Linked DNA regions of Homo sapiens: region 1 is linked to region 2. Evidence: promoter capture Hi-C in 16 types of primary human blood cells and fetal thymus (Javierre and others, 2016). All regions are on one chromosome and are shown on one strand. Each heading gives the region's core, a stretch centred on a gene start or on the middle of the fragment in contact. The rest is flanking DNA. Distances are from core to core; before and after follow the strand shown.

Region 1 (4,909 bases), core at 306-2,805, 5.7 Mb before region 2:
TTAAACAACTTTGATAAAAACATTTTACTAACCTTGCTGATTTATAGTGGCTGGATAAACTCATGAACACATTTTAATGGCTATTAATATTTTTTATTTTTATAACCAAAAAAGTTAATTATGAGACATTAAGGCATTATTTTAAGCCTAGGTGAAATGAGAATTATTTCTCCATATTAAAATTAAGATAATCATTGTGAAATTTGTCATTGAGTATAAAAAGTTTAATAAATATGCAATACTTGATACCTAAGAATGCAAAAATTGACTGTATATTTTAAGTGTCATCAAATGACATTTTCCCTTGGCTAGCCTAATGCTTTTAAATTATCCTTGAACAAGTAATTGGATGGATTTTTACTATTTATTTATGTATTTTTTTAAGATTTTATCATATACAGCACTTAATTTTCTAGGGATCCAATTTCTAGAAAAGGGAAGATTCAGTTTTGTTTTGTTCAGAACTTTACCAAGAGTTATTCACATCACCAATATGTGCTATTTATTTTCAACTGCACGTGTCACTCCTCTGCTCAAAACTTTGCAAAGGCTCTCCATTTCCATCTCTCCACTCCAATTAAAGTCAAAGTCTTTTCAATGCCTACAAGCACCTGTGTGATTTGTCTTCACCCAACCCCGGCCTCTGGTAAAACCTCTGCACCTGGGTTGTGGGGATTGGGGGAAGACTGATCACATATTTCTTCTCTTAATGCTCTTACCTCTTTACAGATGTATTGGAGTCCTTATTCTTCAAACATGTTGGGAGCACTTTGTCTTAGGGTCTTTGCACTAACAGCTTTCTCTGCCTGGAATGCTCTTTCCTCTAGATATTCTCCTCCTGGCTTCTAAGATTTTGCTCAAACGTCATATTTTCTATGAGGCCTGTCCTGACCAGCCTGTTTAAAATTGTAACCTTCTTGATTACTCTCCCCTATACAACCCCAATTTCTTTTTAGTTTTTCCACAAGGCCAGGGATCTTCATTTTTTTCCATGGATGTATTCCAAGAAGTGTGCCTGGCACATTATGAGTGTTCATTAAATATTTATTGAAAAATGAATAAATGAATAAATAAGAGGAGAGCATCTTTATGCAATGCTATCAACTAAGTTAATAACCAGAGCTGAGTAAAGGACTTGGCATAGAGACAAGCTTTATTTAATGATGCATTAGCTCTACTCTACTCCAAGTTAGCAAAGAAATGGCCCACTTCTTGGGGTTCAAGAAAGGGTGTAGGCTGATTCTTAAAAACATGAAATAAAAATCAAAGGATTTGATTGCTGTTATGAAATTTGATTCTCTCAATAATAAATACTTGTCCAAGATTTTCCATACTAACTGTAAAAAAGCATTTGTTTCACTACTGGAAAATGTTAATATTAATGTATTTTGGGAATTCAAAATACATTTGCAGAATTTCAGCCTTTTAAATCAATCAGTTTTTGACATTTCATAACTCCTGCTCTGTTTCTTTAGCTGATTCTGGAAATAAACATTTTGATTTTTCTTATTTTCACTTTATGTCTCTATAATTGTGCTAATTATATAAAATGTCTATTCAGTCCCCAAATGGAAATTATTTCTCAAATTTACTTATATCAATGGAAGGTATTACAGAAGAAAGAGCACCTATTAGAAGTTTGGCAGACATAGCTTTGCCATTATTATTATTATTGAGACAAGATCTCCCTTTTTCACACTGGCTGGAGTGCAGTGAATGATCATACCTCACAGTAGCCTCAACTCCTGGATTTAAGTGATCTTCTACCCTCAGCCTCCTGAATAGCTAGGACTATAGGTGTGTACCACCATGCCCAGCTAATTTTTGTATTTATGTAGAGATGGGGTCTCACTATGTTGCCGAGGCTGGTGTTGAACTCCTGGGATCAAGCAATCTTCTGGTCTTAACCTCCCAAAGCACTGGGATTACAGGCATGAATCACCATGCCTGGCAAGCTTTGTCATTATTAATGATAGTGTGACTGTGGACCTCTCTGAGCCTCACTCATTTACAAAACCTCATATTTAAATAATGAATTTATTATGGACAAATACACACATAATAGTAGGTGTCTAACAGATGTTCCCTGATACTGTTGAATAACTGAATGCTAAAATACTCTTCATTTGAGCAGTTCTTCTTAGATGTCTTTTGAGGTTATTTATAATTTTTATTTCCCATTAATGAATGTGCAGCCTTACATTTCATACTATTTACTCCTGCACTTCTAAGATATGAAAGCTATTGATTAGTTTAGCTACATTTTTTGAGTGTCTATTAGGTGTCTTCGGTCATACTAGTTACACTGACAATTGTACAATATTTGTGGTCCCTGCCAAGAGGAATTTATGATCTAACGAAAACACAAAATGAAAATACACAAAATCATTAGCAAATAACTAAGTATTAACCAGGTAACACTGACTAGGTGTACAGCAAAGTTAAAGATCAGAGTGGGTTGAAGAGATTAGAAAATCTTCATGGAATGAATATGGAGCATTTGAATTGGCCCCAATTAACCCTCAGCACAACAACAGCATAAGAAACGGCTTTACACTCCTTAATACATTGCAAGAACAGTTATAACTACTTTACATTTATTAACTAATTTAGTTCTGAACAACCCCCCAGGAATTAGATACTATTTTACTCCCATTTAAAAGGAAGAAATAAACCAAGAAAAAGTACTGATTAGTAATTGTGATTTTCAATCTTTCCCACCAAGTCTATAGAAGGATTGAAAAGGTTTACCAAAAGGCAGATTCTATTATGAATATTGCAGAGAAACCATCCTTACTGTAAGACAAATAATGTACAGAATTTCCAGCTATTCTTCCACATCTACCCCTTACTTCAGTACAATTAAGCTATTCCTTCTTTCTGCCTCAGTGTTATTAGCCATCTTGCTCTCCTAACTTACCTTTATGGATATCTTATGTGTCCCTCAAGAGCCCTCACAGTTTCTATGTTAATGCCCTGTCCAGGAGAAAAATATTGCATTTTTCTTATGATACTGATATTAAACTGCCTTGTAGTTATTTTGTGTTTTTTAAATTATTATTTATTTATTTTTTTGAGACGAAGTCTCACTCTGTCTCCCAAGCTGGAGTGCAGTGGCATTATCTCGGCTCACTACAATCTCCGCCTCCCGGGTTCAAGCGATTCTCCTGCCTCAGCTTCCTGAGTAGCTAGGACTACAGGTGCACGCCCCCATGCCTGGCTAATTTTTGTATTTTTAGTAGAGATGGGGTTTCGCCATGTTGGCCCGACTGGTCTCGAACTCCTGACCTCGTGATTTACCCTCCTCGGTCTCCCAAAGCACTGAGATTACAGGTGTGAGCCACCACGCCTGGCCTTGTGTTTATTTCTTATGAGCAACAGAGGAAAGGATTTATGTCTTTTTCATTTTTATGTTCCCCATTCATTCCTTATTGCTACTTCCCAACCATGATACCTGGTATGTCTTATATACTGTAGGCATTCGTTAAGTATTTATGAAATAAGTAAATGAATGAATACAGCCAAGATATTGTTCCCACTTTGCAAAAGTGGAGAAGAGGTAGCTTTCTCAATAAATGTGAAAAGAAAAAGAGAAAAGGACATTATTATTATTATTTTTGAGACAGGGTCTCACTCTGTTGCCCTGGCTGGAGTGCAGTGGCACAATCATAGTTCACGGCGGCCTTGAACTCCTGGTTCAAGCAATCCTCCCTCCTCAGTATCTCAAGTAGCTGGGACCACAGGCATGTGCTACCACATTTGGCTAATTTTTGTATTTTTTATAGAGACATGGGTCTTGCTATGTAGCCTAGGTTTGTCTTGAACTCCTGAGCTTAAGTGATCCTCCTGCCTTGGCCTCACAAACTGCTGGAATTAGAGGCATGAGCCACCGTGCCTGGCAAAAAAGAAATTTTTTAAAGTTAATAGATTATAAAAGAAGAAGAACCCATAGATGGAAAAAAGATAATGAGAAAAAGAGGGAAAATTATTAAAAATAAAAATAAATGGAAGGGCAATAATAAATGGGTTGAAATAAAATGTGACTGGAACAAATGATAAAATAGAAATAGCCAAGAACAAATAGGAAACTCTTGGAAAAAAGGAGTTGTGGAAATGAAAGAAAAGTGACAAGCAAATGAAATATAAGAGAAAGGCAACACAGAGAAAGGAAGTGAAAAACATGGAACAGTTGAGAAGAGAGTAGCAAATAGAAATGAAAAGAATGCTGTGTGTCAACAGGTTTGTAACTGGGCCACCCTAAACAAGTTCTTCTTAGTAAAAATAATAAGAGTGTTTTGTTCTGGCTTACTCTTCTACCCTCTTTGCACTGATTGGTATTACTCATAACAGGAATCTGGAGATGCTGAAATATTTGAGGATGGCATTTCCAAGACATTTTAAAGATAAATGCATTAAAAAATCTTTTTGAGCTGTCTATGACAAACCCTCAGCCAACATCATACTGAATGGGCAAAAGCTGGAAGCATTATCCTTGAAAACTGGCACAATGATACTCTGTCTCACTACTCCTATTCACCATATTATTGGAAGTCCTGGTCAGAGCAATCAGGAAAGATAAATAAATAAAGGGCGTACAAATAGGAAGAGAGGAAGTCAAACTATCTCTGTCTACAGATGACATAAATCTATATCTAGAAAACCTCATAGTCTCAGCCCAATAGCTCCTTAAGCTGATAAACAACTTCAGCAAAGTCTCAGGATACAAAATCAACATACAAAAATCACCAACATTCCTATACACCAAAAATAGTCAAGCCAAGAGCCATATCAGAAGGCAATCCACTTCACAATTGACACAAAAATAAAATAGCTATGAATACAGCTAACGGGGGGTGAAAGACCTCTACAATAAAAATTACAAAACACTGCTCAAAGACATCAGAGATGA
Region 2 (4,765 bases), core at 1,364-3,863:
AGATCGAGACCATTTTGGCTAACACAGTGAAACCCCATCTCTATTAAAAATACAAAAAATTAGCCGGGCGTGGTGGTGGGCACCTGTAGTCCCAGCTACTCAGGAGGCTGAGGCAGGAGACCCCGGGAGGGAGACTCCTGGCATGAACCCCGGGAGGCGGAACTTGCAGTGAGCCAAGATCATGCCACTGCACTCCAGCCTGGGCCACAGAGTGAGACTCCATCTCAAAAAAAAATAATAAATAAAAGAGGGAAACCGCTCAACATAACTTTACTAATAACAATGTTTGGTATTATTCTCTATTTTATATCTATAAAAAGCTAGACTCTTGAAAGGAAAAAATTAGAGATCAGAGTTCATTACAGTGCAAACTGACCACAGTATTAGTTGTTGAATTACGCTCAATATATATAAAATATTTAAGTAAAATAAAATGCTCATGGAAATAAAACTCTTAAAGTATTTATCACCTATATATGTAGCATATTCTAGGCCACTGGCTCTAAACGTTTTCAATCACACATCCTACATTCGTAAAATACATTTGTGCATTCATCCTCAATATATTTATTTCTATACATGCATTACTATTCTAATATACTACTCTAGCATAAAATTCACAAAAAACAGAAATTTTTAAGAATGAAAGTTTTAAAAGGTAAACAAATAGAAGTTCTAATATTTTCTTACCACATCTGACTGGATCACCTTGTGCCCCACCACGCACACATACAAAGGCGCTACTTATGAGACCATTAATCCAAGCAACCACATTGTAACTGTTCAGCATAAATTTTAGCCAAATAAAATACAGCACCAACAACTCAGATATCACTTGTTCCTTTTTCTTCAATAGTACTGACTTCCGGCTTCAGATTTAACACTGCATCCATCCTCACTGCAGTTGCTTTAAAGGGGACAATAAACCAAGGGAAATTATCTCTAAAGGGGCCCCATCCAATGGGATTGTTTCGTTCACTGAAAAATAAATTTAAAGGCTGCACTTCAAAGGCTGAGGTCTCATAAAAATTAAATATTTTTATTTAGAAATGTTATTCCAGCACTTTAAAGTTACAGAATAGAGGAATTTTTTTCATTCATAAGCTTTCAACGGCTCTTAGAAAAACCATGTTTAAGTTGGGCAAATAACTGGAATCTGAACTTATGATTTTCTTTAATATCAATCGACATTATTTCTTATGCCAGTAAAGCCTTCATTTCCATGGGGCTGGGCGCCTCATTAGTGAAAGTAAAAGACTGCACAAAGCGGGGGAAGTGCCAACTAGAGAGCCCTCACAACCAAACAAGCAGTACTTAGGTCGGAGGGAGAGAGTTGCTCCTGACCTACCAAGAAAACCACTTTTGTACAGAATATGAGTCATCATTATTGGGTGTTGTAATTGAGAGATAAATCATTAGTGTTTTTGTCTTTTTTAAAAAACATGTCTAAAAAGCTCAAAAGTAAATGCCAGTGTCATATTCTTTTGTTTGTTTTTTGAGACAGAGTCTCGCTCTGTCGCCCGGGCTGGAGTGCAATGGCGCTCTCGGCTCACTGCAAGCTCCGCCGCCCGGGTTCACACCGTTCTCCTGCTTCAGCCTCCCGAGTCGCTGGGACTACAGGCGCCCACCACCATGCCAGGCTAATTTTTCCTTTTTTTGTATTTTTGGTATTTTTTTTGTATTTATTATTTTGTATTTTATTTTGTATTTTTTGTATTTTTGGTAGAGACGAGGTTTCACCGTGTTAGCCAGGATGGTCTCGATCTCCTGACCTCGTGATCCGCCCGCCTCCGCCTCCCAAAGTGCTGGGATTACAGGCGTGAGCCACCGCGCCCGCCGCCAATGTCATATTCTTTAGACATATCACTGTCATTTCACAGCTTTCAAATACTTCCATCTCCTATGTATTATCGATGAAAACCTAAGTTTTCATCTTAGAACGGAGCTGCCCGACTATTAGAAGCGTGGAACCCAGGCTTGCCTTGTCGTCGGGAATGAGCACTAGAGGCACCTGCACGCAGGTGGAGGAGGGAGGCTGGCGGATGGAGAGGGCGAGGCTAGGAGGCCCTCGGGATGGAACCTGTCTCTTCTTTGGACACTGTGGAATTTCCATAAGCTGCTGGACACAGCTGATGGGTACCAGGTATGAGTGGCAACGTTTGGCAATTCCATTAACTGAAAAGAACTACCGAGAAACGGTGAGGCGGGGCGGCGAAGATGAGACCAGCTGCCCATCACTCCAGAGGACCTGCTGAAAGAATCTGAACTCACCACGCCTTCGCGTCCGCAAGGGAAAGGTCCGGCTGCCACGCCCCCGCGACCGCTGTCGCCCTGGGGAAAACACGAGAAACACCCGGCACCGCCAGGTTCCAGAGACCTTCGCAAAGTAAGGGGTAAATAAAAACCGTGGCCCCAGGAACTAGTAGTTCCCAAAGGGACCAAAACCGAGGCTCCCCCAACCTAGCCCGTGTTCACTCCAACTTACCCATTAATGTGGCACTCTCCGATGCCCTGATTTCCCAGTCCCCAGCGGCGACGTGTGTGGCGGGTAACAGAAGGGCCGCCACTCCGCCCCTGGCGTGAAGCGTAGCGACCCAGTTCGCAATCCAAGATGGCGGCCACCTGCGCCCCTTCTCCGAGACCCCGAGGCTCGGCTCCCAGAAGCCCTTGCACTCGACGCGGCGGCGGCGGCGGCGGCGGCGGCGGCGGCGGAGGAGGAGTGGTGGCCGCACATCCTAGCAGTGGGGCGTAGAGAAAGTGCGCGCCGCCGTCCCACCCACCGAAGGAGGAGCCTGTGCCTGCGACAAGCCCTGGATTTTAGTTGCGCTTGCGGTGGCCATGCTGTAGGTACTCTGCGGCCCGTAGACCTCCGTGTGTGCAAAGGGACGACCCCTCATTCATTCATTCTTCACGCGTGCGTGCATGCATACATTCTTAAGGATATAAACTGTGTCAAGTACCATTTTAGATACATTATTGGGGCTACAACAGTGCAAAAAAGTTGGTAAAAATCGCAGCCTTGTTAAGTGTACGGAGAAGCTCACGTTTTCTTCAGCTTCATTAACTTTTATATGCTCTGCTCGTTTTATTTCAAGCTTTTTGTCATTTATAATTTTATATTCTATAACATCTGCGGTTTTTTGTTTTTGTTTTTCTGTTTTTGGGGGGTTTTTTTTGAGACGGAGTCTGGCGCTGTCACCAGGCTGGAGTGCAGTGATGCGATCTCGGCTCACTGCAACCTCCGCCTCCCAGGTTCAAGCGATTCTCCTGCCTCAGCCTCCCAAGTAGCTGGGACTACAGGCATGCGCCACCACGCCCAGCTAATTTTTGTATTTTTAGTAGAGACCAGGTTTCACCGTGTTGGCCAGGATGGTCTTGATCTCTTGACCTCCTGATCCGCCCGCCTCAGCCTCCCAAAGTGTTGGGATTACAGGCATGAGCCACCACACCCAGCCACATGAGTGTATTTTTGACAGCAATGTAGTCACCAATAAACGAGTAACTTCAGTTAAAGTACTGTAGATTATAATACACAGCCCTGTAATCTACCCTGGAGTTCAACAAACGGTATTGAAAACAGACTGTGTTCCAGATGCAATAGGAAGAGAATAAATAAGATAAACAATACATAAATCCTGCCCAGAAGACGTTTGCAATTTTTTAAGAGGAAAAACATGAAGACAAATTGTTTTAAGATGTTTGCTATTTTCAATAGTTGAAAAATAAACAGGAGAGAAGGGATTATTTAACTGTGGGTATGTAGGGCTGAGAAAGGCACGCTTGACAAAGGAAACCTGGGCAGTGTTACCAGAAAGCGTTGCCAATCATGAGTCCATATAGTGAAGTGAAAGCAAGTTTATTAAAGAAGTAAAGAAACAAAAGAATGGCTACTCCATAGGCAGAGCAGTGGCTTGGGCTGCTGGACTGAGTATATAGTTTTTTTGTGTGTTGTTTGTTTGTTTTGACACGGAGTCTTGCTCTGTCGCCCAGGCTGGAGTGCAGTGGCGCCATCTCGGCTCACTGCAAGCTCCGCCTCCCGGGTTCACGCCATTCTCCTGCCTCAGCCTCCCGAGTAGCTGGAAATTTATTGTATTTTTAGTAGAGACAGGGTTTCACCGTGTTAGCCAGGATGGTCTCAATCTACTGACCTGGTGATCCTCCTGGCTCGGCCTCCCAAAGTGCTGGGATTACAGGCGTGAGCCACCGCGCCCAGCCAGTTATTTCTTAATTATATGTTAAACAAGGGGTGGATTATTCATGAGTTTTCAAGGAAGGGGGCAGGCAATTTTTGGAACTTAGGGTTCTACCCTCTTTTAGACTGTATGACTTCTGGATGTTGCCATGGCATTTGTAAACTGTCATGGTGCTGGTGGGAGTGTCTTTTAGCATGCTAATGCATTATAATTCACGTATAATGAGAAGTGAGGATGACCAGAGGTCACTTTTGTCTTCATCTTGGTTTTGGTGGGTTTGGCCTGTCTTCTTTACGACATCCTGTTTATCAGCAGGGTCTTTGTGACCTGTATCTTGCGTGGACCTCCAATCTTCTGTGACTAAGAATGCCTAACCTCCTGGGAATGCAGCTCAGTAGGTCTCAGCCTCGTTTTACCCAGCACCTGTTCAAGTTGGAGTCACTCTGGTTCAAACGCCTCTGACAACAGGACTATTGGAGTACTGATAGGAGTTTATTTGCCTTAATCACCTGGCCACCCTATCCCTTTCTTATTTCCTCCCTACTCCTCCGTCCTGGGAGACTGAATTCAAA

The links. Contacts are between HindIII fragments. The CHiCAGO score rates a contact against its expected background, and 5 or more counts as called.
Region 1: a fragment that was not itself captured here is called in contact with the fragment with the promoter of KPNA5 in region 2 in 1 of 17 cell types (total CD8 T cells); the score reaches 5.8 in total CD8 T cells.

What each region holds. Positions count from the first base shown.
Region 1 is chr6:122,383,495-122,388,403 of GRCh38, reverse strand. No RefSeq gene overlaps it. Among named protein-coding and RNA genes, the nearest start is that of HSF2, 14 kb to the left of the region's middle. The HindIII fragment of the contact is 804 bases long and covers 1,154-1,957 here.
Region 2 is chr6:116,679,059-116,683,823 of GRCh38, reverse strand. KPNA5 (karyopherin subunit alpha 5) reads right to left here and starts at 2,613. Exons shown (of 14, transcript NM_001366306.2): 1 at 2,486-2,613. The coding sequence starts at 2,489. RefSeq lists enhancers at 1,051-2,032, 2,033-3,016. The HindIII fragment of the contact is 1,991 bases long and covers 1,107-3,097 here.